Regions from separate parts of the Homo sapiens genome. Here regions 2, 3, 4 and 5 are each linked to region 1. The links are contacts of gene promoters, found by promoter capture Hi-C in blood cells and fetal thymus (Javierre and others, 2016). All regions are on one chromosome and are shown on one strand. The core of a region is centred on a gene start or on the middle of the fragment in contact, and the rest is flanking DNA. Distances in the headings are between cores, read along the strand shown. Region 1 holds the start of PDLIM5 (PDZ and LIM domain 5). Region 2 overlaps BMPR1B (bone morphogenetic protein receptor type 1B). Region 3 overlaps GRID2 (glutamate ionotropic receptor delta type subunit 2). Region 4 overlaps BMPR1B (bone morphogenetic protein receptor type 1B). Region 5 overlaps BMPR1B (bone morphogenetic protein receptor type 1B).

What was found. Contacts are between HindIII fragments. The CHiCAGO score rates a contact against its expected background, and 5 or more counts as called.
Region 2: a contact is called between a fragment that was not itself captured here and the fragment with the promoter of PDLIM5 in region 1, in 1 of 17 cell types (fetal thymus). The highest score is 6.6, in fetal thymus.
Region 3: a contact is called between a fragment that was not itself captured here and the fragment with the promoter of PDLIM5 in region 1, in 2 of 17 cell types (M2 macrophages and M1 macrophages). The highest score is 5.9, in M2 macrophages.
Region 4: a fragment that was not itself captured here is called in contact with the fragment with the promoter of PDLIM5 in region 1 in 1 of 17 cell types (fetal thymus); the score reaches 6.1 in fetal thymus.
Region 5: a contact is called between a fragment that was not itself captured here and the fragment with the promoter of PDLIM5 in region 1, in 1 of 17 cell types (fetal thymus). The highest score is 11.7, in fetal thymus.

Annotation. Positions count from the first base shown.
Region 1 is chr4:94,449,553-94,455,236 of GRCh38, forward strand. It overlaps PDLIM5 (PDZ and LIM domain 5), which reads left to right and starts at 2,390. Exons shown (of 13, transcript NM_006457.5): 1 at 2,390-2,443. RefSeq lists silencers at 2,040-2,459, 2,630-2,889. The HindIII fragment of the contact is 3,776 bases long and covers 1-3,539 here.
Region 2 is chr4:95,152,389-95,158,072 of GRCh38, forward strand. It overlaps BMPR1B (bone morphogenetic protein receptor type 1B), which reads left to right. Exons shown (of 13, transcript NM_001203.3): 12 at 255-385; 13 at 2,160-5,684. The coding sequence ends at 2,285. Among named protein-coding and RNA genes, the nearest start is that of UNC5C, 390 kb to the right of the region's middle. The HindIII fragment of the contact is 1,070 bases long and covers 2,015-3,084 here.
Region 3 is chr4:93,749,619-93,755,302 of GRCh38, forward strand. All of the region lies in intron 14 of GRID2 (glutamate ionotropic receptor delta type subunit 2), which reads left to right. Among named protein-coding and RNA genes, the nearest start is that of ATOH1, 76 kb to the right of the region's middle. The HindIII fragment of the contact is 1,372 bases long and covers 2,216-3,587 here.
Region 4 is chr4:95,114,157-95,119,840 of GRCh38, forward strand. BMPR1B (bone morphogenetic protein receptor type 1B) reads left to right here. Exons shown (of 13, transcript NM_001203.3): 5 at 564-666; 6 at 1,529-1,631. Among named protein-coding and RNA genes, the nearest start is that of BMPR1B, 360 kb to the left of the region's middle. The HindIII fragment of the contact is 5,000 bases long and covers 1-4,912 here.
Region 5 is chr4:95,089,886-95,095,569 of GRCh38, forward strand. All of the region lies in intron 3 of BMPR1B (bone morphogenetic protein receptor type 1B), which reads left to right. Among named protein-coding and RNA genes, the nearest start is that of BMPR1B, 330 kb to the left of the region's middle. The HindIII fragment of the contact is 2,007 bases long and covers 1,758-3,764 here.

The DNA of each region.
Region 1 (5,684 bases), core at 1,140-3,639:
ACTACCACACTGCATAGCACATGGTAGGTATTTGCTAATGGTAGCTATTGTTATTTTTTTTTTATTTTTGGGTGAGATGTCAAACATGATAACATATATTAGACTCTCTAAACCAGCTTTCACACTAGGAAACACTTTCCCCCAAAGCCATCTTTTGAAAAATGTGGTGAAAGCTATGGACTGGTGCTGTCCAATGAAAATATAATGTGAAGCACATATGTAATTTTATTTATTTATTTTTTTAGAAACAGGGTCTTCCTTTGTCACCCAGGCTGGAGTGCAAAGACAAGATCATAGTTCACTGCAGCCTCGAACTTCTGGGCTCAGCAATACAAATAGCTGGGACCTGGGACTACAGGCACACTACACGACGCCCAGCTAATTTTTTGGATTTTTTTAGAGATGGGTCTTGCTATGTTGCCTAGGTTAACCTCAAACTCCTGCCCTCAAGCCATCTTCTCACCTCAGCCTCCCAAGTGCTAGGATTATAGGTGTCAGCCACTGCACCCTGCTCACGTAAGTAATTTTAAATTATCTAGTGGCCACATTTTTTTTAAAAAGTGAAATTAATTTTAATCAAATATTATTATTATTACTCTTTTTTTTTTGGTGCGGAGTCTTGCTCTGTCGCCCAGGCTGGAGGGCAGTGGCATGGTCTCGGCTCACTGCAACCTCTACCTCCCGGGTTCAAGTGATTCTCCTGCCTCAGCCTCCCAAGTAGCTGGGATAACAGGCATGCGCCACCACACCCGGCTAATTTTTGTATTTTTAGTAGAGACGGGGTTTCGCCATGTTGGCCAGGCTGATCTTGAACTACTGACCTCAGGTGACCCACCCGCTTCAGCCTCCCAAAGTGCTGGGATTATAGGCGTGAGCCGTCGCGCCCGGCCATAATCATGTATCATTTAACAAAACATAAAATATGATGATTTCAGCATATAATCAATATAAAAATTATTGAGGCATTTTACATTATTTTTTCATACCAAGTCGTCGAAATCCAGTGTGCATTTTACACTTCCAACGCATTTCAATTTGGGCATTATATTTTCAACTTTAGTCCTTAAATGTAGTGCTTAAAAGAAATGTTAACGACCTGGCGCGGTGGCTCATGCCCGTAATCCCAGCACTTTGCGGGGCCGAGGCGGGTTGGTCACCTGAGGTCAGGAGTTCGAGATCAGGCTGGCCAACATGGTGAAACCCCATCTCTACTAAAAATACAAAAAATTAGCCGGGCGTGGTGGCGCACGCCTGTAATCCCAGCTACTCAGGAGGCTGAGGCAGGGGAATCGCTTGAACCCGGGAGGTGGAGGTTGCAGTGAGCCGAGATTGCACCACTGATCCCAGCCTGGGAGACAGAGCAAGAATCCGTCTCAAAGAAAAAAAAAGTAAAGAAATGTTATCCTGCTTCAGTTTTAAATGTTAAATTATTTAAAATTACGTAAAACAAAAAATTCATGGTCTCAGTTACAGTAGCCACATTTCAACTGTTCGATAGCCACATGTGGCCAGTGGCTACCGTTAGGGAAAGAGCAGCTTTGGATCTTCGCCTTTGGAATTTTGCTTGCACTTCTGGGGGCCGGGGAGCTCACGGACCTCATGAAGTTCATCCTTGCTTTATATGCTCCTTGGTTAAGAATTGTCCTTTTCACGTTTTATAAGCCAATTCACAGTGTAACAGTCTAGTTACTTTCCGTATGTTCAGTGAACATTATTCACGTTTTCTTATGAATAAATTCCTCGGGCGTATCAAGCAACCCTATAGAAGGCTGGAAAGTGGACTATTGATTTGGATTTAGAAAAATAAACTGAAGATACAGTGGTTGAATCACTTTTGGCCGCTTTTATGTATCACTGTCTTCTGGTGTGATGGACAGGGTTAACTTCTGTTAGGGTTACTGGTTTTCACCTTCCTGACAGGTAAACTTCTGGGTCTGCACTTTTCAGAGCATGTAAAGCTCTTTCAAAAAAAAAAACGCAGGCAGTAACCGCTGAACTTGCATAGATAGAGATTTATCCAAAGTACCCTTCTATTTTTAGGCAGAGCAACTGCTTGCCAATTTAAATTTCTGGAGAGAAAAATGCACCCACTACAAAACGGACGAGCGGAGGGTTAGACCTTTGCCAGGTAGCGCTCAAAATCCGCTAAGACTACTCCCACCGAAACTCGGTAGCGCAGTTGTCTTTCCGCAGCTGCTTCAGCCAGCCCCAGCAAGCCCGAGCGCCCGGCGCCGCCGCCACCTTCCCCGCCCCTGCGCGGCGCGGCTGGGACTGGCCCAGAGGCGTGGCCGGGAGCGGAGGGGCGTGTCCTGGGTCGGGGGTGGGGCGAGGGAGAGCCAGGAGGCGGAAGTTCCCGCGGGCGGTGGGGACGGCGCCCTCACCGCGAGTCACTTGTCAGCCCTTGTCTGAGGCGGAGGCAGCCCCGCGCCGCGCCGGACCCGAGGTGAGTGGCGGCCGGCCGGCGATGCGCCTCTCGGATCTCCGGTGGGAGAAGGGAAAGAACCGGCCGCTGTGCGCCGAACGCGAGAAGGGAAGCCCGGTTGGGGACGAGGAGGGGGCGCTCCTCGGGCAGGGATGGCTCCTCAGGTGCTTTCTGGGCGCGGAGCGGCGGAGGTGGGAGAGCAGCTTGGGAAAAGGAGCGCCCGGAAAAGGGCAGCGCTGGAGTCCGCATGAGGCCAGAGGGCGAGCCCTGGGGTCCCCGCAGCCCGGGCCGACCGGGACCAGCGTAGCGGAGACGGGGACGCGGGAGGGCGCCCGGAGGTGGCGAGGGCCGGCAGGGACGGGCACTGCCGCTCCCACCCACCCGGCTGCCGGCGTCGCCCGGCACCACCGTGGTGTGGTGTCTGAGTGCCCAGTCCTGCGCCAGTCTCTTGGAGGGTAGGAAGCGGGACTCAAAGGAAAAGGCGCGTTAGTTTTTCTTTGCTCCCAGGCTACTGAGAAGCATTTATTTCTCCCCCAGATATTTACAGTTTTGTGTAACCTGTTTGGGGAAAACTTCTGCGCGTCCAGAAATAAAGCTCGTTTAAGAAACACATTTGTCATGAACACGAGATTTGTTAACACTTGAGTACTTGTTGGGGCTTTTGTAAGACTGTGCCTTCGGTGCGTTTTACAATAAGTGGAAAAAGGAAGGGCGTGTGGACAGGGCAGAGCTTGGAAGGAAAATTCGTGGCGGCGCTGGGCAGGGCAGATTTAGGGTGTGATCGCCAGATCCTATCCCAAGTCCGCCTTCCTGACGGGGAGGACGTCTGAACCCGCCTGCCACGGAAACGGCCCGTTCGGTAGCCTTATTTGGCCAACAAGGCTAGGCGCGAATCCCTCCTGGAAAACTGTCCTGTCGGCTGCTTTCATCCTGTGCCTGTGGCTTTAGTTCTTCAGCTCTACCTACATTCTCTCTCCATTGCGGGGAAAGAGAATCTCAAGATATTTCTCTTTAATTTCAGGCCTTTTTTTTTGTCACTCTGTGTAGTTCATCTTGAGTTCTCCTTTCTCCCCTCTCACCCACTAATGAAGCTGAGATACAAGTGTGGGAAATACCAAGCTTCCTTCCCTAGTACTAGAGCAAAGACATTGTTTAGACTTTCCCTAAAAGAAAATCCATAACTCTACAGAAATTCCAACCTTTTCGACGTGTTTGAAAGAGTATGCTGCTATTTCCTGCCTGCTTGGTATTTGAGGAAGGGCTTGGGCACTAATAACCAGATGGAGGAGTCTTGGAAAGGCCAATAAAAATATTGCCATTGCTTGGGGCAGAGACTGTTTTAAGGCAGATGAATTCCAAATGAAGCTAGCAGAAGAAGCATCTAGAAATGAACGGACAGTGACTAGAAATGAAATGACACTGGTTTTGTAGTGTGGCTGTGACCTTGCCAGTGCTAGGAATTTTAATAACAAATGAGAGAAGTTAGGAAGGGAATCCCCAAGTAAAGGGAAGTTGCAAGTACATGGGTTGATAATCTAAATGAAATACATTTTCTTGTAGGGAAGAATGGGGCCAGAGGAAGTTGAGCCCAACTTTCATATTATTCCCCAGACACAAGTTAAAGATTAATAAAGGAGGGCAGGCTGCCTGTGAAATATCAGTTGGCTTTACACGATTCTGATTTGTATCGTGTCAATATCAGGACAGTCCTTCTATTAGTTTTCTGAAAATCTCCTCCTTTTATAGCGGGAAAGCAATTGAATTATGTGTGGCTCGTTATTAGCTTCCCACTAGTAGTTTTTCACCTATATATACAGTTTGACTTCCGGCTTGGCCTTTGGATCTTTTTTAGTGCTCTGTGCCTATTACTTCATTACTGAAGTAATGTGTTATTGCCTTGTAGTTCAGTATACTACCACGCCAGTAGAAAAGCTGTTTCGGTTTCTGATACAATTTTCTGTAATTTTTATTTTCCCTGATATAATTTTTCTTTAAAAACCAGGCTTATTTGAATGTTTTGCCCCATTTTCCCTTTATGAGAAGAAGGAATGTTTGCTTTAAATATACCTATGGCTCAAATATCTATATCTGCAACTATGAATTTGGGGTGATGGGCTAGAAATTTTGAATGGGTTAAAACATATTTTAAGACAGGTAATATTAGGTGGTGATTTGGTTGAATAGCTTACATTTTCCAAGGAAGTATGTTTTTAATATAAAATTACATATCTGTTATGTTTTTAATATTTTTTAAAGAGAGAGAATTATTGTTTCTTAGTATTCCATTAAAACAAAAGAAAACTTCATTCCTCTGTCTCCTGCCGTTATAACAACCAATAGGAAACTCGAAGTTTTTTTTTTTTTTTTTGCTTTTTAAAAATTATATGAAAGTACTACTAGGAGAGTCATCACACGCACACTTAACAGCAGAACAGACAAAAGAAAGCACCGAAGCACTGGTTCTTTTCTAAACTGCCAATTCCATTTGAATGCATTAACCCAGCACTTTTGCTGTATTTAGTCATAATCTTATTCACTGAGTGGCAAATGCTTACTCTCTGCCTGGTGAGGTGTGTGTATAAAACAAAAAGCAGGTTGTGACTAACATCACTGTACTAGAGTATTGCCTATCGTTGACTATCTGAAGGAAAAGTAGATATCACTTTAAGTGTGGAAAATACCATGTCCCCATAGGAGGAAATACAAGTTGTAGTTCATGATTGGAGAGAATAGTTTTGTGCATTGAAAAACAGCTTCTCATTGTAAAGAATTTAGTATTTGGAAAGCATGAATGGGAGCCTACTGATTTGCAGTCTCTTTCACATGTTAGAGTAACTTAGAATTTAAGTAAGTGCAGTTGAAAGACTCTTGTCAATTGCAGACAAAAGAATACATGAAGTGGAGGGAAGGAGAAAATTATTCTGAATTCAACCTGAAATAAAATCTTGCTACATTAGTGAAGTATTGTAAAGTACTTTGAGTTAAACTTTGCATGCAAGAAGCCACAAAATTGGATTGAAGCAAGTTGTGAAACATACTAAGTGTCTAGAAATGTATTCTGATATGGAATTTTTAGACCATGGAAATTGCCATGAGTGTAGAAAATTTATATTAGCTCACAGATTGCTTTTCTTAAACTGAAATTAATGAAGAACTTAATTAAGACTTATCTTCTATATCCTCTCACCCCCCTCAAACAAAATACTAAACATAATTTATGTTCTAGGGTTTCAAGTAAACATTTTTGCTAATCATCTGATTT
Region 2 (5,684 bases), core at 1,300-3,799, 700 kb after region 1:
TTAGCTTTTGGAAATTAGGAAAGAAAGGCTTGAAGACCTATGACAATATTTTTCATTGGGCTTTGTATTCATTTTTTCTAAATTAGATTAAGTACCATTTGGGTAAATATTTTTCAAGATTTATTTTGCTATTTTTCTGCCTGAACTTGTCTGTAATACTGATAGCACTTTTCCTTTGAGAACTGTGTTAGACTTTTATTTCTACTTCACAGAAAATAATAATAATAATAATAATAGTAACAACATATTTTTAGGTATAGTGGAAGAATACCAGCTTCCTTATCATGACCTAGTGCCCAGTGACCCCTCTTATGAGGACATGAGGGAGATTGTGTGCATCAAGAAGTTACGCCCCTCATTCCCAAACCGGTGGAGCAGTGATGAGGTAAGGCTTGAGGTAACCATGTGGCTGTGACAGACTTCTAAATAGACTTTTCTTTTTTAGCTAAAATTCCACATATTGATTGTAGGAATTCTTCTTTTTTTGATGGTGATGGTGATGGCGCCTCATTGCAGTAATTTATATGAAGATAAGTGTAGTATGTTAAATTACTTGTTCTACTTTTCCAATTTTATTTTGCCACTTCCAGAATATATTGAGTGAGTTGGTCAGTGTTTAGCCTGCATAACAAATAACATTATTTTCTTTATTTATAATGTCTTGACATTTGCATAAAACCTATTATTTCTCTGTGTGTGTTTTTAAAGCATCATAATTTTTCTCTGTGACAAACCCATGTACAGCATTCTCCCATTTTGATTAGAGAAAAAAAGTAGGCATGTTAAAGTGATACAGGTTGACCTAGTTAAGATGCCTGACTGTGCTGGGTGTCTTTGTTAATAAGGATGACGAGATGTGATTTGAACAAATCCACCTTCAGCTTGGCTCTAAGGCTGTAGTGGTGAAACCTACATAGGTCTGGAAAGCAGCGGCTAGTAAGGAAGAAATGAGTCTTGCCTTTCCTGACTCCTCCTCCTGTTCCACATTCCTCTCCTTCCACCCTCGCAGCCTTCAAACTCACCATGTTCTAGAGTTCTCTGGCAGACTGGAATGTTCAAGATGAGTTTGAAGCACCACTGGAAAAAAAAACAGGCTCTTATCAAACGTACCAAAGCACTGCAAAGGGGGGACAGAGCACTATTTCTGAAGTGTAAAAGCCATTTAAATATAATCTCTGGGCCGGGCACTGTGGCTCACATCTGTAATCCCGGCACTTTGGCAGGCCGAGGCGGGTGGATCACTTGAGTCCAGAAGTTCGAGACCAGCCTGGCCAATATAGTGAAAACCCATCTCTATTAAAAAATACAAACAATAGCCTAGTGTGTTGGTGCACACCTGTATTCCCACCTACTCGGGAGATTGATGCACGAGAATTGCTTGAACCCGGAAGGCGGAGGTTGCAATGAGCCAGGATCATGACACTGCACTCGACAGACCGAGACCCTGTCTTAAAACAAATAAACAAACAACAACAAAAACAAAAACACCTTTGGCTCATTGGTTTTGTGTCTGGTTACTAAAATGCTAAATAATATATACGTTTTCCAGCAAGCTGTGCAGAAAGCTTTATGAGATGCTGGAGCTCTGTTATTGTGGGCTTTTGGTGTTACTTGATATCTCTTCACTGAGGATTTCTTATGAAGTGAAATTGTACTTTTCAATAGGAAGACCAATAATTGATGTACCACAGGAGAAAGTTTTAGTGATGCTGTGCACAGGTCATTAATCTTGTTAAATGGTGCAGTGTGATGCTATTACTGCAGCAGACAGCTATGATTTAGGAATAACTGTGTTTGTTTGCATAGTATGGAATTAGATAAAAGATTAAAACTTATCAAGTGTTATAAACAATCTGGGAGTATTGAGTGGAATACAGACTCCCTGGGTATTTTTATGTTTGCTTAACACTAATTTCAAAGACACCTTTCTACAATCAGCAGAACCACCTGCTTGTTTCTATCACAAAGAAGACATGAACATCTGTTTTAGTCATATATAATTTTGCATGAAAAAAGCTTACAGAATTTTACTTCTACATGGTTTTAAGGGTACCTTTTAAAAATATATTCAAACTTAATGAACCTAAAACTAAAAAGCTACATTGTAACAGGTGCCAGCCTTGCAGATGATACATTTTTCTAACATTTCTCTTCCTCAGTGTCTAAGGCAGATGGGAAAACTCATGACAGAATGCTGGGCTCACAATCCTGCATCAAGGCTGACAGCCCTGCGGGTTAAGAAAACACTTGCCAAAATGTCAGAGTCCCAGGACATTAAACTCTGATAGGAGAGGAAAAGTAAGCATCTCTGCAGAAAGCCAACAGGTACTCTTCTGTTTGTGGGCAGAGCAAAAGACATCAAATAAGCATCCACAGTACAAGCCTTGAACATCGTCCTGCTTCCCAGTGGGTTCAGACCTCACCTCTCAGGGAGCGACCTGGGCAAAGACAGAGAAGCTCCCAGAAGGAGAGATTGATCCATGTCTGTTTGTAGGACGGAGAAACCGCTTGGGTAACTTGTTCAAGATATGATGCATGTTGCTTTCTAAGAAAGCCCTGTATTTTGTGATTGCCTTTTTTTTTTTTTAAGATGCTTTCATTTTGCCAAAATAAAACAGATAATGTGGATGGTTTAAGGGTTATAGTATTATAGTTTAAATAATAACAACAAAATTCTTCCCAGGAACTCTGCTGGAAGGTAAATTAAAATACTTGTTTTTCCATTGGTAAAATATTGTTGCACTCTGTGAACCAAAAGACAGTCTAAGTTGGAGGACATAGAACGGAACTCATCTTAAACATACTCCCCACCCCGTCTTGGCCTCCTCAGACCACTTTGGCCATCCCTGCATTTGGGGCCGCTATGGTAATGTGAATGCACTGGGTACAAACACCGCCTGTCTAGGACCACATTTGGAATTCCTGCAGGTGGCCTTTTGCAGCTTCAGGCAATATGGAACAAATGAAGGTTTATGTGACTCTAATAGAAGTAATTGTTGATAGGTGTTCTTCAGATCCACTTCTGTTTCTGATTGAGTTAGGCATCTCTTTCATGGTAAAACCCTTTTCATTAAACACAAAGAAAGCTTTTTTTTTTTTTTTTTTTTTTTTTTTTTTTTAATGTGCAGAGGATTGACCTGTGCATGCTTTTGATCTCTCATTCAAAGGATCAATATTAAATAAAATTGTCATGAGCTGTGTTGAAGACAGGGTGCTTTCAAATAGAGGTAATTTGCTCTTGTGTTGTAAGAGGAACATGTCAACAAAGATAGGAAATGAGGGTGATCGTGCAGATGGCTTGTATCTTATATATGCAAAGGAGCCAATCTCAGAAGCACAAAGAAAAAAGTGTGCATACCTTATTTTGTACAGATAAAGATGATGTCTTTTTGTTATTGTCTGTCTGTTTTGTATGTGTCTGAGATAAGGGATAGAGAGGAAACATCCGTCAGGCTAATTTAACTACATTTTATTTTAAAAATAGAGAAACATAACCTCTAGATGGGACAGCAGAGGACAGTTAGTAGAGGCCACAAACTGTTATGGGCTGCTGTGTTTTGTTCTAAAATCAATATGGTTGGAGCATGTATATCTTAGGTGATCATTTCACATCTTAGGAATGCCTACTCATTTTATTTTATTCTAGTGATGCTCAATTCACTATTTAATTTATTATATTTTCTCTTCTGTGGCACTTATACAAAATATCTCTTCACCTACTTAGTTCTACAGGGTTTTAACTTTGGAGCAACATGAATAAAATCATCGAGAAGGCCAATATTGTTTAGCAACATGAATACAATACAGTTTAAAGTTGTACACATCCTGCTCAACTTTATTCATATACATTTCCTTTCTGTGGTTTTCTTTTGCTTCTTAGAAATTCTGTTAGTGGTTAGTAAAGAATTTGAAAGTACTTTCTCCTTGCTGTTTTTTTTTTTTTTTAAGACATTCCTCCCAGAATACTCCAGGGGGCAGTGTTTTATAACACATTTTCCCCACTGGGTGATTGAAGGATGGAGGATTTTTGAAAATTTGACAGCTACATGAAACATGAGAAAACATTTTCCTCACTTCTGAAGTCGGTTTGCAGCTGGTAACTTGTTCATCCAGAAAACATTCTAAAGCAATGAGACTTTGTGAGCTGTGCTTACAGTTTGGGAGAATCATGAAGATTCTTTCTATATTTTGCATTTACTTCCCAGTGCTTCATAGCTGCATTTTGTTTGTAACTAAGACAGAAGAATTTCGTAATCCTTGAAATTGAAAAAAAAAAAATTGTGTTTTTAAAGAGTGAAAACAGTTAGAAAACAAGTAGAACTGTAATCAGAACGCTGCTTCAATTGATATTAAAAATAACCTCAATAATAATGTAAAGGTTCCTTTCTCTTGTGTCAGTTATATTCTTAGGGATAGCCTAGAAGGAATATATGGTTAGAACTAAGTGTGACTAATCATCTGAGCCTTGAAGAGAAACTTCAGTGCCTCTAAACAGATCATCTACAAAACAACAGGTAAACATTTATGCCAGTTAAGTGGGTCATGTTTTTGTTTCTTGGGTTTTTCCTAAATTTAAGTGAGGTTGGGCTTACCTTGTAGATAAAATTATGTTTTCTTTTTGGTAAATACTTGAACGTGGATAACGTCAAATCAGAATATTTTGTGAGGAGGTGATGATTTGAAATTAAGCTAGATTTCTAGGGAGGTGTTGGTTCCAATGAAGGATGGGAAGAAATTAAAATAGTCTTCAAACTTCTTCCTTATTATATTTGGTTGCTTTGGAAAAGATTGGTCCTATCCTCAATCTAATTTATTCACTATTAATATTTTAAAAACATTCCTGAGATACTTAAAAAGACCCACTTAGCGATTATAGTTGCTCAATGAAACAAGAATTTATTTATGCATAGATTTTTCTCTGTATCTTACCAAAATCCACTTTACTTAGATAACACTAAATTGTTCTTAAAGACTACTCATTTCCCAATAATCCTTTATGATTTCAAAATTTCTAGTGGCTCAGAAGTGAATTTTATTTTATTTGTCTTTCACTTGAATAAATGAGAACCCAGAAATTAATAATGTTGTTTATTGCTTACTGTCAGGACTATTTCAAAGACTAAGAAGAGTTTCTTCTAACCCCTCCCTCTCAAAGGAATCCTAAATTATTAGTTGTTAGATAAGTTTTGTATGCTAAGATATTCAGGTTTATAGTTTATGTATGTGTGTATATATATAAATATATATGTATATATAAATATTATGTTCAGTTTGGAGTCTGGCACAACTCCATTATGTGGATTAGAGAGTAAGATATTATGGATGATAAAGTACTAAATGAAACATAATATTTATTTATAAAAGTGTGTAGATTGTTAAATCACAAAAAGAGTGCTATGACCATTATGTATGAGGAAACAGGCCTTTGACCTCCTGGAAAGCACTGCTCAAAAGTCATTAGTGCCCATTTTTGAATTCCCCAAACAGAAAGCTTCTTAGAAAACATGCTGAGATTTTATTTACAGGGAATTCTTTGACACATTTCAATTGGTGTGTAGTCAAGTATAGCAAGTACTTAATAATGACTGAATTTCATGTTCCTACAGTCATACATATTCATTAGAAGTTTTATGTTGTTGGTCTGATCTGATTCTTCTTTGTTTGTGGGTGGAACGGCACTGAGA
Region 3 (5,684 bases), core at 1,652-4,151, 700 kb before region 1:
TGCTCATACACCCACTCTCTACATGTTATAAACATAAAGCCTTAGTCAAATAGCCACCTCCGCTATGACACTTTCTTTGACCACTTTTGCCAAAGTGGCGTCATCCCCCTCTACAGAGCTAAGTAATGATTCTTTAAGAAACCCTCACAATGCTTTTTGCTCTCCATCTCTTAGCCAAAAACAAAACAAAACAAAAAAGTCTTTGGTTGTTTAAGCTAACACAAATTACTTCACTCCCTTATGCCTGAGTTTCTAAATATAGAAAAATGGAGATAAAGTCAGTAACTACCTCACAGGGTGATTTCGAGAATTATATAACTGAATTGCTACAGAGTGAACAATGCAGGTGAAGAGATAGGTGCTCAATAAATGTGAGACATGTTAACTATCATGACTACTACTGCCATTGGTGAGCACACATTATATAGTTCCCTTTCTTGAGCTTTGCTTTTTATTCAGCAAATTGATCGAACGCATCCTCTGTGCAAACAACTGTAGTTGGTGCTACAGAACACACAAAATCTATAAGACACCATTACCTGGCCTAAGGAGCTTGTAATCCTTTCAAAGAGATAAAACACATTACTTTAGTGTTGGAACAAAGCACAAAATTATAAGAAAACTTCCAAGGAAAGTTCAAAAGATGGATCAATTAGTGGTTTCTCCAAACCTGCTTTAGTATCAGAATCCCCTTGGGAAAGTGCTGTTTAAAAATATAGATTCCCAGACACCAACCCAAAAATAGTAAATAAGAATCTCTGACTTGTAGCCAAGGAAATTCAAGTGATTCCAATGATCACCCAGTAGGAAATCCCTAGAATAGTCACGTACAATTGGAAATAAAAGGCTTTCTGTTAAAAGGTGGTCTTGGCCAGGCGCGGTGGCTCACGTCTGTAATCCCAGCACTTTGGGAGGCCAAGGTGAGTGGATCACAAGGTCAGGAGATCAAGACCATGTGAAACCCGGTCTCTACTAAAAATACAAAAAATTAGCAGGGCATGGTGGCAGGCCCCTGTAGTCTCAGCTACTCGGGAGGCTGAGGCAGGAGAATGGCGTGAACCCGGGAGGCAGAGCTTGCAGTGAGCTGGGATCGCGCCACTACACTCCAGACTGGGTGACAGCACAAGACTCCGTCTCAAAAAAAACAAAAAGGTGGTCTTGACCAGGCATCGAGACACATTTTATAAGAGTTAGGATAGAAGGAAGAAAGAGTGGTGTCACTTAAAAGAGATGAGTTAGTTCCTAGCCAGTGATCTTCTCAATAAGGATGAAATATTATCTTCTGCTAAGAATCAAACAGGTGAAAATACAGTTCAAGGTTTGGGAAATGTGGAGAAAGTTGGAAGAGTTGTAACATGTTTTACAGGGATAACTAGAGGTGAATTAAACTGAGGGTCCATTATGCTACAATATCTCTCACTGCAATTTCCAAGGCCAGTTTATACCTAGGCTAGGGTCATTCTTCTTAAATTCCCAGAAGCTTATATAAATGAAAATGCACTGACATTATCAATAAAAGTGAATTTTTAATATCACTGACAATAGGATCATTAACTATTGTGAATTCTTCATGTCTGTTAACAACCTTGTTTCTTTTGCCAAGTATAAAATTTCAAATTTGATCTCATGAAAAGTCTAGGAGTCAGATTCTCATAAATAACAACAGATCTATCCATTTGCTCTTTGTTGATCTGTAGCTGGCATCTGAATATATGAATTCCCCTAGGGTGAGAATGAGACTCTATAATTAAAGTTAATTGGTGTTGCTTTTCACCTGTTTTTCTTCTTGGTGAGTGAACTCTTTTATTCCTCTCATTTTTCCACATCAAATTCTCAGTATTGCAATGGGTCTCCCACAGTTCCAGGCAGTTTCTGGTTCTTGGGGGGAAATGCTCCTGTGGCATTATTGATTGCAGCCTTCATGAGAAGGACAATGATTTACTGTGTTGCTTCCTGTGCAGCTGTGAATTTGCTGTACAGTGACAGGGCCTTCCGTGGCATCCTCTGTCTCAACTTGACAGGAGATCTGGAGAGTGAGCTAGCTGTATTGAAATGAAAGTGTCCTCACCCCAAATCACATTCTGTCCCTCAAACTAAACCCAGGTCAGTGAGAGGTTAGCGAAAACACGGTTAAGAATGTGCTAAAGGGTGATACTGAAATTGAGGCTGTCCCCACTGTCTTCTCAAGGCCTGTAACCCGGCTTGCCCTCCTAAAAGCTTCATGCTGTCATTCCTTGCCGCCTCCTTATTTTCCTAGGCTTTCCACAACTGCCTGCTTTCTTACCCATACTCCCAATACTGCATGCTATGATTTTGGGGAGGACACATTCAGGCCATTGCACACCTGAACATTCTTTTTTTTTTTTTGGCTAGAGTATCAGAATGGGCACTTGACCTTAGGCAGCACTGTGTTTGGACTTATACATTGTTCATGTCAATGTTTGGTTCTAAAAGGAAAAACTGAAAACCTATTGCAAATGGACTCCACTGTATTACTGTGGCTGTACCACATTAGTCTTTATAATGATTATAACAATAGCTGCCTGGTATGGAGAACTTAATATATACCACATAATGTGGTGAACACTTTGCATATACAATACAATTTAAGATAAATATTCCATTCCAGGGATTAGGAAAACTGAAGCTCAGAGGGATCATGTTATCTTGCCAGTACATAGTCAGGAAGTAATGATAACAGAATTTCACCCACGTTTTCCTAACTAATACTCATACTGTTCTTTTATTTATTTATTTATTTATTTATTTTGAGACACAGTCTTGCTCTGTCATCCAGGCTGGAGTGCCCTGGTGCAATCTTGGCTCACTGCAAGCTCCGCCTCCCGGGTTCACACCCTTCTCCTGCCTCAGCCTCCTGAGTAGCTGGGACTACAGGCACCTGCCACCACGCCCGGCTAATATTTTGTACGTTTAGTAGAGACAGGGTTTCACTGTGTTAGCCAGGATGGTCGCGATCTCCTGACCTCATCATCTGCCCACCTCGGCCTCCCAAAGTGCTGGGATTACAGGCATGAGCCACCGCGCCTGGCCAATACTCATACTCTTAACTATTACATTCTCCTTTTCCAAAAATCTCAGTCCTTTAATTATTTTCCCTGCTTAAAATTTCCTAAACCTTATCCACACCTCATTATCATTCTTTGACTTCTCTTTGGTCATAAATTATTTATTATGTGTATCCTTCCATCTATCTGTGTACTTGCACATTGTTTTGCAGGTAAAATCCATATTGTCCATTTATTTTGTGCTCACTCAACACCTGGTATATCAGTGTTATGCTTTTGGAGTCTTTGGAACCGTTAGTTTTCTATATGGATCATACCCTGACTTATCATAAGTGGAAGTGATAAGAATGGCCTGGGGGTAGGACAAGAAGGGAGAGAAAATAAATAGTTATCACTGATTCTCAGAGGGATGCCGAGACTAAACTGACCCTACCATCAGATTGTTAGATATGATCTTCTTGAATGCTGTTTGCTACACCTCCTATCTACATGCCTACAGGCAGCCTTCACCCAGAGCTAAAAGAAAGTGGAATCCAAATGTTTAAAAAATATTTATTTAGAAGCTTAAGAACTCTACCCAAAGTTCTCAGGCTAGGATTAGTAACATTAGGTTGTAATGTCCACTCTTCTCTTTCTTCCATACTCTGAGATGTTCTCCCCAGTACCAGCTTATCTTGTTATGCATCTTAGAAAAATTCTTTTTATTATTATTATTATACTTTAAGTTCTAGGGCACATGTGCCCAACGTGCAGGTTTGTTACTTATTTATACATGTGCCATGTTGGTGTGCTGCACCCATTAACTCGTCATTTGTATTAGGTATATCTTCTAGTGCTATCCCTCCCTCCTCCCCCTACCCCATGACAGGCCCCAGTGTGTGATGTTCCCCACCCTGTGTCCAAGTGTTTTCATTGTTCAGTTCCCACCTATGAGTGAGAACATGCGGTGTTTGGTTTTCTGTCCTTGCGATAGTTTGCTCAGAATGACGGTTTCCAGCTTCATCCATGTCCCTACAAAGGACATGAACTTATCCTTTTTATGGCTGCATAGTATTCCATGGTGTACATGTGCCACATTTTCTTAATCCAGTCTATCATTGATGGACATTTGGGTTGGTTCCAAGTCTTTGCTATCGTGAATAGTGCCAATATATGAAAGTCCCTGGGGAATCTTGAGAGCCCTTTGGGCCAGCATCAAGACTCACTGAGCTGTAATTTAGTGCTTAATGCCATAAGGAATTTGGAATCAATTTTTATACAGTCATGGATCACTTAGTGATGGGGATACATTCTGAGAAATGCATTGTTAGGTGATTTCATTGTTTTATGAACATCGCAGAGTGTACTTACACAAATCTAGACGGTATAGCCTATGAAACCCAGGTTATATGGTATAGGTGTATTTCTTCTAGTCTACAAACCTGCACTGAAGACTGTGGGTAATAGTAGCACAATGGTAAGTATTTATGTATGTAAACATATTTAAACATAAAAAGATAAAGTAAAAAGATGGTGTTATAATCTTATGGGACCACTCTTATATATATGGTCTGTCAGTGACCAAAATGTCATTATGAGGTACATGACTGTAATTTTCTGTAATGTGTGTTGCAGCTCAGGCACTACTGGGAATATTGGGTCACAGTACAAGTCCTCTTTTTTCATCACAACTACAGAAAAATTACTTCAAAATGCATCAACTATTATCTCATAGAGTGTAGCCTCTCATAGAAAGACCATAAGAGTAATAATATCTACAAAGTGGATCTGTTCTCACGTTACTCTTCTTTCTATGACAGTATGTCCATTTGTTATATATGGAATGCCATTATTTGCAGTGATCTATATAGCTTGAGTTTTAAATCAGTATACTTTTATCAAACGGTATACCTTTTTGTTCTCATCTAGAAACAAATAGACAGAGTGTAGTATCCAGTATTGCTTACCACCATATACAAGGTAAAGATTCACCACAATTTACCAATACTCTGAGCAATTTAGTTGCTGACAAATATAACTGGCTATTCAAACATGGGTAAATTGCACTTCTACAATTATTCATTAGGGCTCCTATAATAAGTATTTCAGATGCCTACTTAGCTGGGTTGCTTTCATTTCTAATTCATAAAGGTTTAAAACAGATTTGAGAAGCTGATTATGCAAGGGTTGGGGTAAAGTGGAGAAATAGAGGGCTTTGCAACTGCCTGCATTTTGTACATACACATTTACAGTATTACCAGACCTATTTCTGAATAAAGAGACCAGCCTCTTGGTCCCTCTGACAATTGTTATCAGGACTGAATGGCATTCAGTTTTTATCAAGCCTCTTCTCTGAGTTATTGAAGCATCCCATAATATCATCAAGTAAGTAAACGTTGTGCATGTAGCTCTTGCCATTATCATGGAAAATAGCAAGTAGTTCTCATGAACTTGCACAGGAATGGTGCAAGTAACATCCCTTTCATAACAGCAACGTATCCACACCATTTCATTTGTCTAGCCACATAGACACATAGAAAGGTAGGCTATTCCTTTTATATCTATTGGTAAATTTTCTTTCGAATAACTGCTGAGAACTTCACTCCTATAAGCAGTTGGTGCTGCTGGTTGAAGAAAATAGATACATTATCTAAAGTAATAGATAAGTCTCATTAAGAA
Region 4 (5,684 bases), core at 1,163-3,662, 660 kb after region 1:
ACCTGTCTTTAGTTTTTGTGCTTTAATAAGAAATAAGTGTATTTCACTATCTCAGAGCAAGAACAGTATAAACAGTCACCTGCCTGGATTCACACCCTTGCACTCCTTCTCACTAACTGTAAGACTTTTGAAAGTTACTCAAGCCCCCTGAGCCTCAGTTTCCTCATATAGAAAGCAACAGTAGTGCTACCTTCCTCACAGAGTTTGTCTGGATTTGTCTGGAAAAGTAGTATCTGTGAAGGGCCAAAATAAGTGTTCAGTAATTGGTATCTATGGTTTTTCATGGTAATTAATGATGTATATTATATGGAAATGTTAGATCCTTCTTTTTCACAAGTTTCTGGACAAAGGAGATATTACAAAATGTTTTTATGTTTATTAAATCCATTTTCATAAAAGGAAGTTTTTGGATTCTCTTAACAGATCATTGACATTCTCCTTGTTGCAATAAAACAAATGATACACATCACTTATTTCCTTTTCCCCTAGACACACACACACACACACACACACTGACTCACACACACACATTCTGTTTCTCACTTTGCTTGTTTGATCTTCAGCACAGACGGATATTGTTTCACGATGATAGAAGAGGATGACTCTGGGTTGCCTGTGGTCACTTCTGGTTGCCTAGGACTAGAAGGCTCAGATTTTCAGTGTCGGGTAAGGTAGATAACTTGATTCTGTAACCTTTCATTGGCTAGATTTCCAACAAGTTTCAAGCAAGATAAAACCATTCTTTTTCTTGGCCAGCCCATTTTTAGTATAGTCATGAGCTGCACAAAAACATTTAGGTCAGCAACAGATGGTATGTATGATGACAGTGGATGGTGGTCCCATAATATTATAGCACCATATTTTGACTGTACCTTTTCTATGGTTAGATACACAAATGGATACTATTGTGCCTTAATTGCCTACAGTATTAAGTTCAGTGACATGCTGTATGGATTTTTACCCTAGGAACAATAGGCTTTATCTTTTGGCCTATGTGTGTAGTAGGCTATACCATCTAGGTTTGTGCAAGTGTACTCTGTGATCTTCTCACAATGACAGAATCACCTCATAACACATTTCTCACAACATATCCCTGTCTTTAAGTGACACATGATTGTAATTTAGAAAACTGAAATTTTCCATTGGACCAATTCTTCCTTCATTTTGAAATCAAATATTATTTTTATTTTTGCTGTTAACGTCTTGTTTAGTGTCGCATTAGAGCATCTTCCTCAAAATCCAATTTAGCTTGTTGCATTAATCCAAGCCTTCTTCCTCAGTTTATACAATGCACACTAGTTATTAGAAATGTAGTAGTAATTTTGTTGAAATGCAAAAGTTGCAATAAGATAATACATGGTAGCTTGAAATAAATTACCTTATAGAGGAGAACATATTTAAGGTGTTTGAGTGAAATTGTTAGAATTTTAAATTAGTTCTCTAAATAGTGACTATTTTTAAAGTTTTAGATGATTTGACTTTGAAATTTGGAAGAAACTCACTAATAGCTGTTTGGGTTCGATTATAGGACACTCCCATTCCTCATCAAAGAAGATCAATTGAATGCTGCACAGAAAGGAACGAATGTAATAAAGACCTACACCCTACACTGCCTCCATTGAAAAACAGAGGTAAGTGAGGAAGGCTTCCAGCCTGGAAAATCACTAGGTATCATGAAAATAAAAACTAAAAACTAGAATCGTTCTCTCTCAATCTACCTGTACCACTTTCCACTGCTGGAGCAGAGCACTGAGGCCAGATGACATGGAACCATCATTCGAAGACATGTGCAAGTAGTTTGTGGGAAAACAGTCATATGTGACTTCACTTTTATGATTTTTATTTTTTCCCACTTCTGTTCAGAAAATTGCTATTCCTAGAGTTTGTAGTGTATTTCAGGGTGGAGGCAGGAGCTAGCACTCTGCTTCTCCCTGAAAGTTATTCAGAAGTTGTAGTTCACCCAAAAACTACCATTTGTCTATATTTATTTTAAAAGTAAAGACCATATAAAGGGCTAAATTAAACATTATTTGCTATATGGCATTTCCTTTTTTTATGCTAGAGTAACACCTTTTAGTCAAATCGTATCAATATATTGATAAAATGGGGAAGGTATCTAAAAGTTTTAATTTCAAAACTTACCCATTTAAGTGTTGTTCCTTTAAAATGACAAATATTGCCTCCCAAGATATTGCCTCCCAAGAGACCTTTTGTTTGCAACAGGTCTCATGTTCCCTTTCTCCTCCTCCATGCTTTCAGCGCGCGCACACACACACACACACACACACACACACACACACACACACACGGTTTTTTGTTGTTGCAGAGTTTTAAGTCCTAAATCTTATCTAAGTGATTTAAAGTGATTTTTCATGATTGATTTTATTTCTTGAGAAGAGAAAAATCTTTCCAACAAAACATAATGGAATTTCATGACTTTGTTTTGCTTTCTCTCTCTCTCTCTCTTTTTTTTTTTTGAGACAGGGTCTTGCTCTGTTGCCCAGGCTGGAGTGCATGGTGTCATCATAGTTCATTGCAACCTCCACCTCCTGGGCTCAGGCAGTCCTCCCACCTCAGCCTCCCCAGTAGCTGGGAAACAGGTGCACACCACCACACCCAGCTAGAATTTTGTGACAAATGTTTTAACATTTGTTCCTGTTCTAGCCTAGAAAGCTATACAAGATTGATTAATAATGATTCACATCAAAGCCTCACCAGCATTTTTTTTTAATTGTGGCAGGCAACATGCTAGGTATTAGGAATACAGAAATTAATGAAGAAAATTATTCCTCCCAAGAAGTATACATTAGAATGTAAGAGAGCACCGTGTCAATAACTATATTTGTTCAGAAATATCTCATTAGTAGAGTTAGATTATAAAGTGTATTAAGGACATAATAGAGTGAGTGGCTGGCTCTACCTGGGGGAGGAGGTTGTCAGAATAGCTTCCTAGAAGTGATACTTGAACAAGACTTTAAGGATGAAGAGGAGTGTGCTAAGTGGATAAGGCAGGATAGGCTAAGTATATAGAAAGTTTAAAATTTAAATGGCTAACTTTAGCCACATAATCTGCTAAAAAGTACATTAATTAATCCATTTTAGCCTCACAGCAGCCCTGTGAAGTACATAGAATTGTTCTTCCAACTTTAAAGATAAGGAAAACACAGCACCGGAAAGTTTATTAACTTTGAGTTTGCATAGCCTATGAGTAGCAGTGACTCTAAACAGATGCAGTAGTTAAGTGCAGAGGTCTGGTTTGTAATATTGGAGAGCCATTTGCTAACTACAGGAGTATGAAACAGCATGACTGGTTGGAGAAAAATCCCATAATTAAGAGAGATGAGGGCTGGGCACAGTGGCTCACACCTGTAATCTCAGCAGTTTGGAAGACCAAAGTGGGAAGATCGCCTGGGCCCAGAAGTTCAAGACCAGCCTGGGCAACATAGCAAGGCTCCATCTCTAAAAAAAAAAAAATTTTAATGATCTGGGCATGGTGGTATACATCTGTAGTTGCAGCTACTAGGGAGGCTAAGGTGGGAGGATCACTTGAGCCCGGAAGTTCGACATTACATTGCGCTACAGTCCTGCCACTGCACTGCAGCCTGGGTGGCAGAATGAGACACTCTTTCTAAAAAAATCTTTTTAAATAAATAAGAAAAGAGAGATGGGGCCAGATTTCAGTCCAGTTAGGAGTGTGAAGGTGAGAGAGCATTATCTGAGGAGGATGTAGGAATTTAGAAAAATAGTAGAATAAAACTCCAAAGGACAGAGTAAAAAGGCTTAGAAAAGGAGGGTAGGAACAATGAGAAGACAAGTTCTTGGTCCAGGGCAGTGTGGAGATGAGGATGCAGGAGTGGCTGGTGGACTCTACTGAGCATTGCGTAAGGTGGCTGGCTTTGGTGGGGTTTAGTAGCATTAGAATGCACTGCTTTGAGCTCTGAGGATCTCAGGTGGTACTTAGGCAAGGTCTTTCCAGATTCCACTGCTTTGCCAGTGCCTAGGCAAGGTCTCTGCAGAGTCTACTCAGGTAGTGTCTAGTTCCAAAGTCTCTGCAGATTCTTACCTTTTTGGGCCAGCTGTTTTGGGGTCAAGTAAATGTCACTGCAGATTGTAGTCTGAGAGCACTGATGTTTTTACATAGCTATACCACAGAGCTGCTGCTTTTTTTTTTTGACTCTACCATATACACATGTACAGTTTTTATTGAAATTGTACTAGATATTTTACTTTCTAGCTATATGATTTTTTTCTTCTATTTCTTATTGCAATTGTGAACCATCTTCTAGTCTTATAAAAACAGTCCTGGCATTTTAAGCAGTTACAAGCTAATTATCGGAGAGGTGATAGTAGTGACAGAATGCAGTTTTGTTGTGAAACCACTGGTGATTCTTAACTTGCCTCTCAGAGTGAACCAGACTTCGCCCGGGAGTTCTCAGTTCTACTTCCCAGAGCAGTTGGAGTGACAGCGCAGGTAGAAATCTGCTGTCCTGGAGAGAGCTGAAAGCTGTGGGCTCTGCTCTTTTCCTGATAGGTATCTGGAACTGTTCACTTTCTGAGACTCTGGCTGTGGCTTGAATGTTTACATTGTTAGTGCTCCGAGCACAGGTAATGGCAGATTAAAACATGACCAGCGTGACCAGCAGAAACAAAAGGTTTATTGATAAGGATCACCTATTCATGAGAGAAGACAAGGAGGCTGCCGGGGATAGGGTTATGGGGCAAATAAAAGGCAAATGGGAAGGTAAAGCTAGCCTTAAATAAAGTGCTTGATGGAAAGGAAAGAATCCCTTGATCCTTCTGGTCTCATTGCTCTCATAAATCAGAAATATAATAAGATAAGTAATACACAGTGTTCTTGCAGCTCAGGGTGTATCCTGTATCTTGCATTTACATGGAAAGTAAAAGGCAGTGAAGCTTGGAGTCTTAGTAAAATTATATCATTGGAATGGAAAAGTATTATGTGTTCATATACTGATAATATATTGACATTATAATTATGTGGATAGTTCTAGTTTTGGTTGAGTATCTAGCATTCTCCTAAAATCTAAAATTTTTGCAAAATCTTTCGTTATCTTTAAAATTGGAAATGCATTTAAGTTAAGTTTCCAGTCGCAGTCTTAACGTATTTGTGTGTTACAGTGTTTGGATGCTTCTATCTGTATAAAAATATTGTGAGTTGTGCTTTCACTGGTTGAGGTATTATGATACCTTGAATTTATTTTTAACTCTTTATATAACCTAAGAGAGGGAGGAATGGAGGAAAAAATTTACTAAGACAATTTATTGTGTTAAATTTTAGCCTGCATAACATTAAGAGCTTACAGATTATTTTCAAGATTTACTAAGCAGCATGTTTAGACAATGAATGCTCAAATTATATATAATTCCTGTTTGTCCTGAATGGCTCCTTGAATGGCTCCTGTTGAGCCCTGAATGACTTTTTACAAGTGCTATAATATGTCAAGTTCCTGAGCTCCCTTTTCCTGGATTATTGGTAACATTTCTTAATTTATTCATATAATAACTGCTTTAGTAGCCTCTCATTTAGTGTTTTCAGATGGAGATTACTTTCATTAATATTTTGCAACTATTACAAATCATAAATAGCTGTTAAACATATATATTTTAGACTGATGAGTAAATCATAACACTGACCATCATGAAGTTTGGATAAGAAATTCATA
Region 5 (5,684 bases), core at 1,511-4,010, 640 kb after region 1:
TATATCCAGGTTCCAATTCAACTGTCTTATTTTACTTTGGATATAGACTAATGGTAGAATTAGGGGAATACTAGTAAAACATCTTACAGCACACTTCTTGAATACCATTCTTCTTTCATTCGGCCTCAGGGTGTTACTCGGAAATTGAAATGCAGTATTCTAACCCAGGTGTTTGAATACAAGGGAAAACTATAAGGTTTGTCAAATTCTGTTGAGAGAGAATGTTCTCATGTACACAGGAATTTTTGTTGACCCTATTGATTTTAATACATATCCTATGCATATTTTTTTCTAACAAAATTTTTAATATACTTTTTGGCTAGTAGGGAATTAGTATATAAACAGCAATAAAAAATAACTTAAAATGTTTAACATGTTCTTTAATATATATATTTAAATTATAGTTACATTTTATAAAAATTATATTTACATTTTGAATTGATATATTTTCTTCATTTCAGCTCTTTTTGTAAAGGAATTTTTTGGTTTGTTTTTAACCATCTGCTGTTAGGCAAAGGTATCTGTTTTTTGGATAAGATTTCAGGTCATTTGTTTAAAGTGGCACAGATACTAGCTTGGAGGAACATGATTTTATGTTTATCTATAGTATAAAAGGAAATAGAGTGAACCTTTGGTGTGAGTGAACAATCAGCAGACCTTTTATGACAAAAGAACAACAACAAAATTGACAACTTTTATGCCACACTCTCCAAATAGATTTTAAGGTTCATGAACATAGTGGCCATTTCTTCTTCAACTCTTTGAGCCCAAAGTGCTTACAGCACTTTGAAATATTTGTGTATGGTAAATATTTCTTAATATTTGTGTATGACAAATATCTCTTAAATCAATATGGACTAGTTAGAGGCTTTAACTTGACTCTAATAAATATTTCATTCTGTTTTAACCATATATGATGAATAGGATAGCTGTGTCTCAAATATAAATTTTATATCAAATTTTTAATGAATCAAGTCAAATGATATGGTAGATTTAATAAAAAGATAGAAATAATGGTATTCATTTGGTCTTCAGTTTTCCAAACATTTTGAAATTTTCCAAATTTTAAAAGGAATTTGACATTTAGTAAAGGTAAACCTCTTTAATGAAAGATTTCTAAATGTTTGTGTAGTTGATTGGTTTGTGAAATTGAGATTCTCTTAAGATAAACTTAAGACATTGCATATTGAAATAGCATTCTGAATGTCAAAGGATATTATAAAGATAGATTTCTAGATATTTAAATGATGAATTCTAGATATTTTTCTGCCTTGCATAGACGCAGAGGTAGCTTTTAACCATCTGGAAATGTTACATAACACACTGTGGTCAGTGACATTTTTTTCATTCTTTTTCCTTTTTCTTTTCTTTCTTTTTTTCTTTTCTTTTTTTTTTGTTTTGTTTTGTTTTGTTTTGTTTTTGACTCCTAGGTTTCTTTTCTTTTTTACCTTTCCACTGTCATATGCCATGGGTCCTGAACATAGCTCATTGCTTGACCGGAATAATGTCTCTTGCCAGCTTATAATCAAAGGGACTACTGAGAAAAACAGCTGAGCTGTATTAGGCAACCACAGTCTGGGCTGCATTTCTTAACTGCTGAATAACATATCACAGGTGCAGGATTAGTGCTGCCTACGGTGCTGGGCTTTTTAGTGGAAACCCCTAGCAATTCTGTGCCTCCTCCTCATGTCTCTCATCCTAGGGAGCCTGGCAACCATATATCAAGCGTACAGAAATCAAAAGTGAGTAGTGGGAGAAGCTTTATATCTCACAGAGACTGTTTTTTTTTTCCCTCCAAAAAATGTAAGCAAGATGAGTAAAGCCAATTCTGGCACAATAAAAGCTGTTAGAACTTAGCCTTTTTTGGCATAGATGGTGAAATAGACTAATTCAAGGGGATCAAAAATTTTGTCTAAAAAAATTACATGGCAAGAAAATACCATGTAGCCGAACTCTTCTGGTAGTGTATAATTTAGCTTACTTTTAAATTAATGATGTTCTTATATGTATTATTTTAACTTTTGTGTTATGTGTGAGTGCGTGTTTGCCCCTACACATTTTCAACACTGTCAAGGTTAAAATCAAGTGTTGTGGTTGTATAAAGGTCTTGTGGTTAAATTTTTTATAGTTTTTGATGTTGTGAATTCTTTTACTATTAATGTATCAACTATACACTTCTAAATTCATAGGTTATAAAGGTCTAGGTTTCTTTCTTGCAAGTATGAGTTTTAAAAAATGCAAAATGATTCTTTAAAGTATAAATGTAATGATTTAGATGTTAGATCAAATGAATGTTTCAAAAATATAGTTGCTAAGATATTTATTTTTTACCAGGAAGGATATAAATTGTTTTGGCATGATAAAGTGTACATTTGGAGAAGTGAGGGCAAGTATATTTTAGTAATTCATATCATTTTTGGTAGCTATCTTAGAAAATTTTTCTGTGACGCACAACAGATAAGTGTAAAAGCACATGGGTGGCACTGCAGATTTTAAACAGTTTTCTTTGGTTTACAGTTTGTTCTCTTAAAACTATGATGGCTTTCTAATGTTTACATTGCATTCTTATTCATTTTATTCCTGGTGATCATTATTCCATATTGTTTCACCAGAGATAGACCTTTAAACTCATTGGTGATGATAATAGTTGATAATAGTGTTTAGCTTGAAATATATATACTATATTTTATACCTCAAATATTTAAATATTTGAACTAGCAATATATTTGAATATTTTAAAGTCAGTAATAGCTAAGGTTACCTTTAACAGTTTTCCTATTAGAGGGTATGGTAAGGATTAGGAGCAGAGAGGTTCTAAATGTTTTCCAGGTTTTTTCTTTGGGGAAAAAGAATAGCACAAACACGGTGATTTGGTTTCTGGTTTGTCTGACTTCATTGTCACTTCCCTTTACATATATGCATCTATAAAATAGTTTTATACACTAGGCTGTCTTGGGAGTGCTTTGCAAAGCTGCAGAGTAATTTTTGGTGTGGAGGCAAGTTGAACATCTACTTTGATTAGCTTCGGAACTCTGTGAAGCAGAGCATTCATAGAAACTGCTGAATAAAACCATAGCTCCTGGCTTGGAAATCTGCCAAGTTCTAGTTGACTCTGACATTATTGTCAAAGAGACCACGGTTCAGTTTCTTTTCTAACAATGTGGAGCTGAATTGACACATTAAATATTTTAAAATACAAAGTCATTTTTAATTTTTAATCATTCTATCGGCTGAGATTATGCTATTTTGTGACAGTGGCTTCAGTTTGATGTTGCATATTTTTAAATCATGGTTACTTGCTTGTCAAGTTAATTTTGTTCTTATATTGTTGCTTTTATTAAAAATACTTATAAACAAGTTGTGTTTTAGAGATTTTTCAAAGGTTTTTAATTTATATAAACATTTTGATTGAGTTTCTCTAAATTCAAAAGCAGAGTAAAACCTAAGGGAAAGGCTAGCTATTGTTTTAAATTTAAAGAGTGTAATTATGATGTCCAAAGAATTTTTATTACTATCATAATTACTATTCCTGCTGAGGTTTATAATTCTATGTCTGCTGAGGTTTATAATTCTATGTCAATTACCTGGAAAACAAATGAATATAAATGTTTGTGTTGTCTGTTGACTTGTATGTCATATTTACTCTTCTTATGATTTTTTTATGTCATAGTCTGGTGTTGTCTGTTGACTTGTATGTCATATTTACTCTTCTTATGTTTTTTTATGTCATAGTCTGGTATCACATAAAATGTTTGAGTGATTGAAGCTTTTATAGGTCTCTTGGCAGGGTTTTTCTGATGTGAAAATGTTGAAAACATGATTATCCATCATAACCCGGGTGATGTGTAATGTCGATGTGTGAGTATGGTGAAAAGAGAAACAATGTCAGTGAATAGAAACACTCACAAATATTTTATGAAGCCCTGGTTTCTAGAAAGAGCCAGCAGTTATATTTAAAATTAGTGTGTCTCTTAACCTACTCATTAGTGTTGACCATGAGTGGCTGAAATTAAAAACTGGCAATATCCCTGGTTTTGGTGGTTATGGTTTCCATAAAAGATACTGGTTGATTACTGCCACACACAAAGTAATCTTCCCTCTTATGCACTCCTGTCTAGGACTTAATTTGGCAATTATGTGGCATTGTGACATCTCTTTTATTGTTTTCCTATATGTATTTCGGCTTTCCATATGTAGTTGATTTGTCTCACAGTGTTCCACGTGTAGCTGATTTGTCTTACAAGCAAGATTGTTATTTTATTGAGGACACCGTCAAGTACTCTGGGTCATTGTGTTATGTAAATGGATTTAATGATTATTTGCTAAATGAATCAATGTACCAAGAGATGAAAGAAAATAAGAATATTTTAGTCATCCTTGAACAAACTTTCAGTATGTTTCTTAAGCTGAAAACCTTATATTTTTATAGACTCTTTGCTCACCGTGATTAATCTAGAAAGGAAGGAAAAGTAAAAGGCAGTAAAATGAAGCAAAAGAAAGAGGAATTGAGGAAGAGGAGAGCCAGGAAGGGGAAAAGATAATAGGGGAGAAAAGGAAAGGAAGACAAATAGAAACGGGAGATAAAGGAGTAGGGAAAAGGAAGAGAAAACTGAATAATAGTAAGAGTCAGCAGCACATAAAACAACAATTTATTATTATTGACAATTACTATGTGCAAAGAACCATAGTTGATGCTTTATGTGGATTTCTCCTCCACCCCACTGCAACCAGTGAGTACTGCTACTCTCCACGTCTTCTATAAGGAAGTTAGTTAAGTCACTTGCTAAGCCATTTAAGTAGCTGAGCTCGAGTTTGAACCCATTTGTCTATTTTACCCTACATCGTCATCAAGTCTAGCTCCACTGCTCAGTGACCATACCTGATATTGCTTTGTCATCTGACATTTCACTCCTGCATAGCATGTCCAGAAATTTAGCACCAACATCTTCCCTTATCTTTTATCTGATTTCTGTCTGTTGAAGGAGAAAGATTCCTGTGTAGGTAACATCACAGTTAATATTAGAAAATCTGTTCTTTCCCTACATATGATTTTGCTCTGGTATTTTTTAATAAAAATTGTATTTATATTTTGTTACTTTCCAGAAAAGTTTAGGCATATGTCCCAACTTTTTATTAATTATTTAGTGTATATATATATAATTTTTTTTTCCTAAATTTTTTGCTGCAAAGAGCATAGAAAATGATTTATTTGAAAGTACTTTAGTATAAGGAAAAATGGTTAGGTGATGAAAATGAAACTCAGGCCTTTAGAGTTGAAAAATTTAGACAGTGAATTGAGTTAAATGATTCAAGGTTTAAGTGTTGAAAATAAAAATTAGCGATTAAACTATCTGATGTCACAAAGTTATTTTAAAAATTAATATTGTTTTAAAGCTCTAATCAGAGTTTTATTCCTGTGTGAAATAGACTCTTAAAAAAACTGTGAGTATTTAAACTAGTTTTGGTTAAGAAAGAAAATGGGCATTGATTTGCATTATTTGTTATCATAACGGTACAAATAGCTGTAGGATGGGTCATTCCCAAAGTTGTTGCTAGCCAGTTCAGTACTTTAAAATTTTTCTTCCACTAACCTCTTTACCCTGGACATTTAAAGTGCAAACTTGTGTAATATGAATTTCAATTTCTCTTCTTGCCCCTGCCTGCCCTCTGGTGTAGAAGGTGAA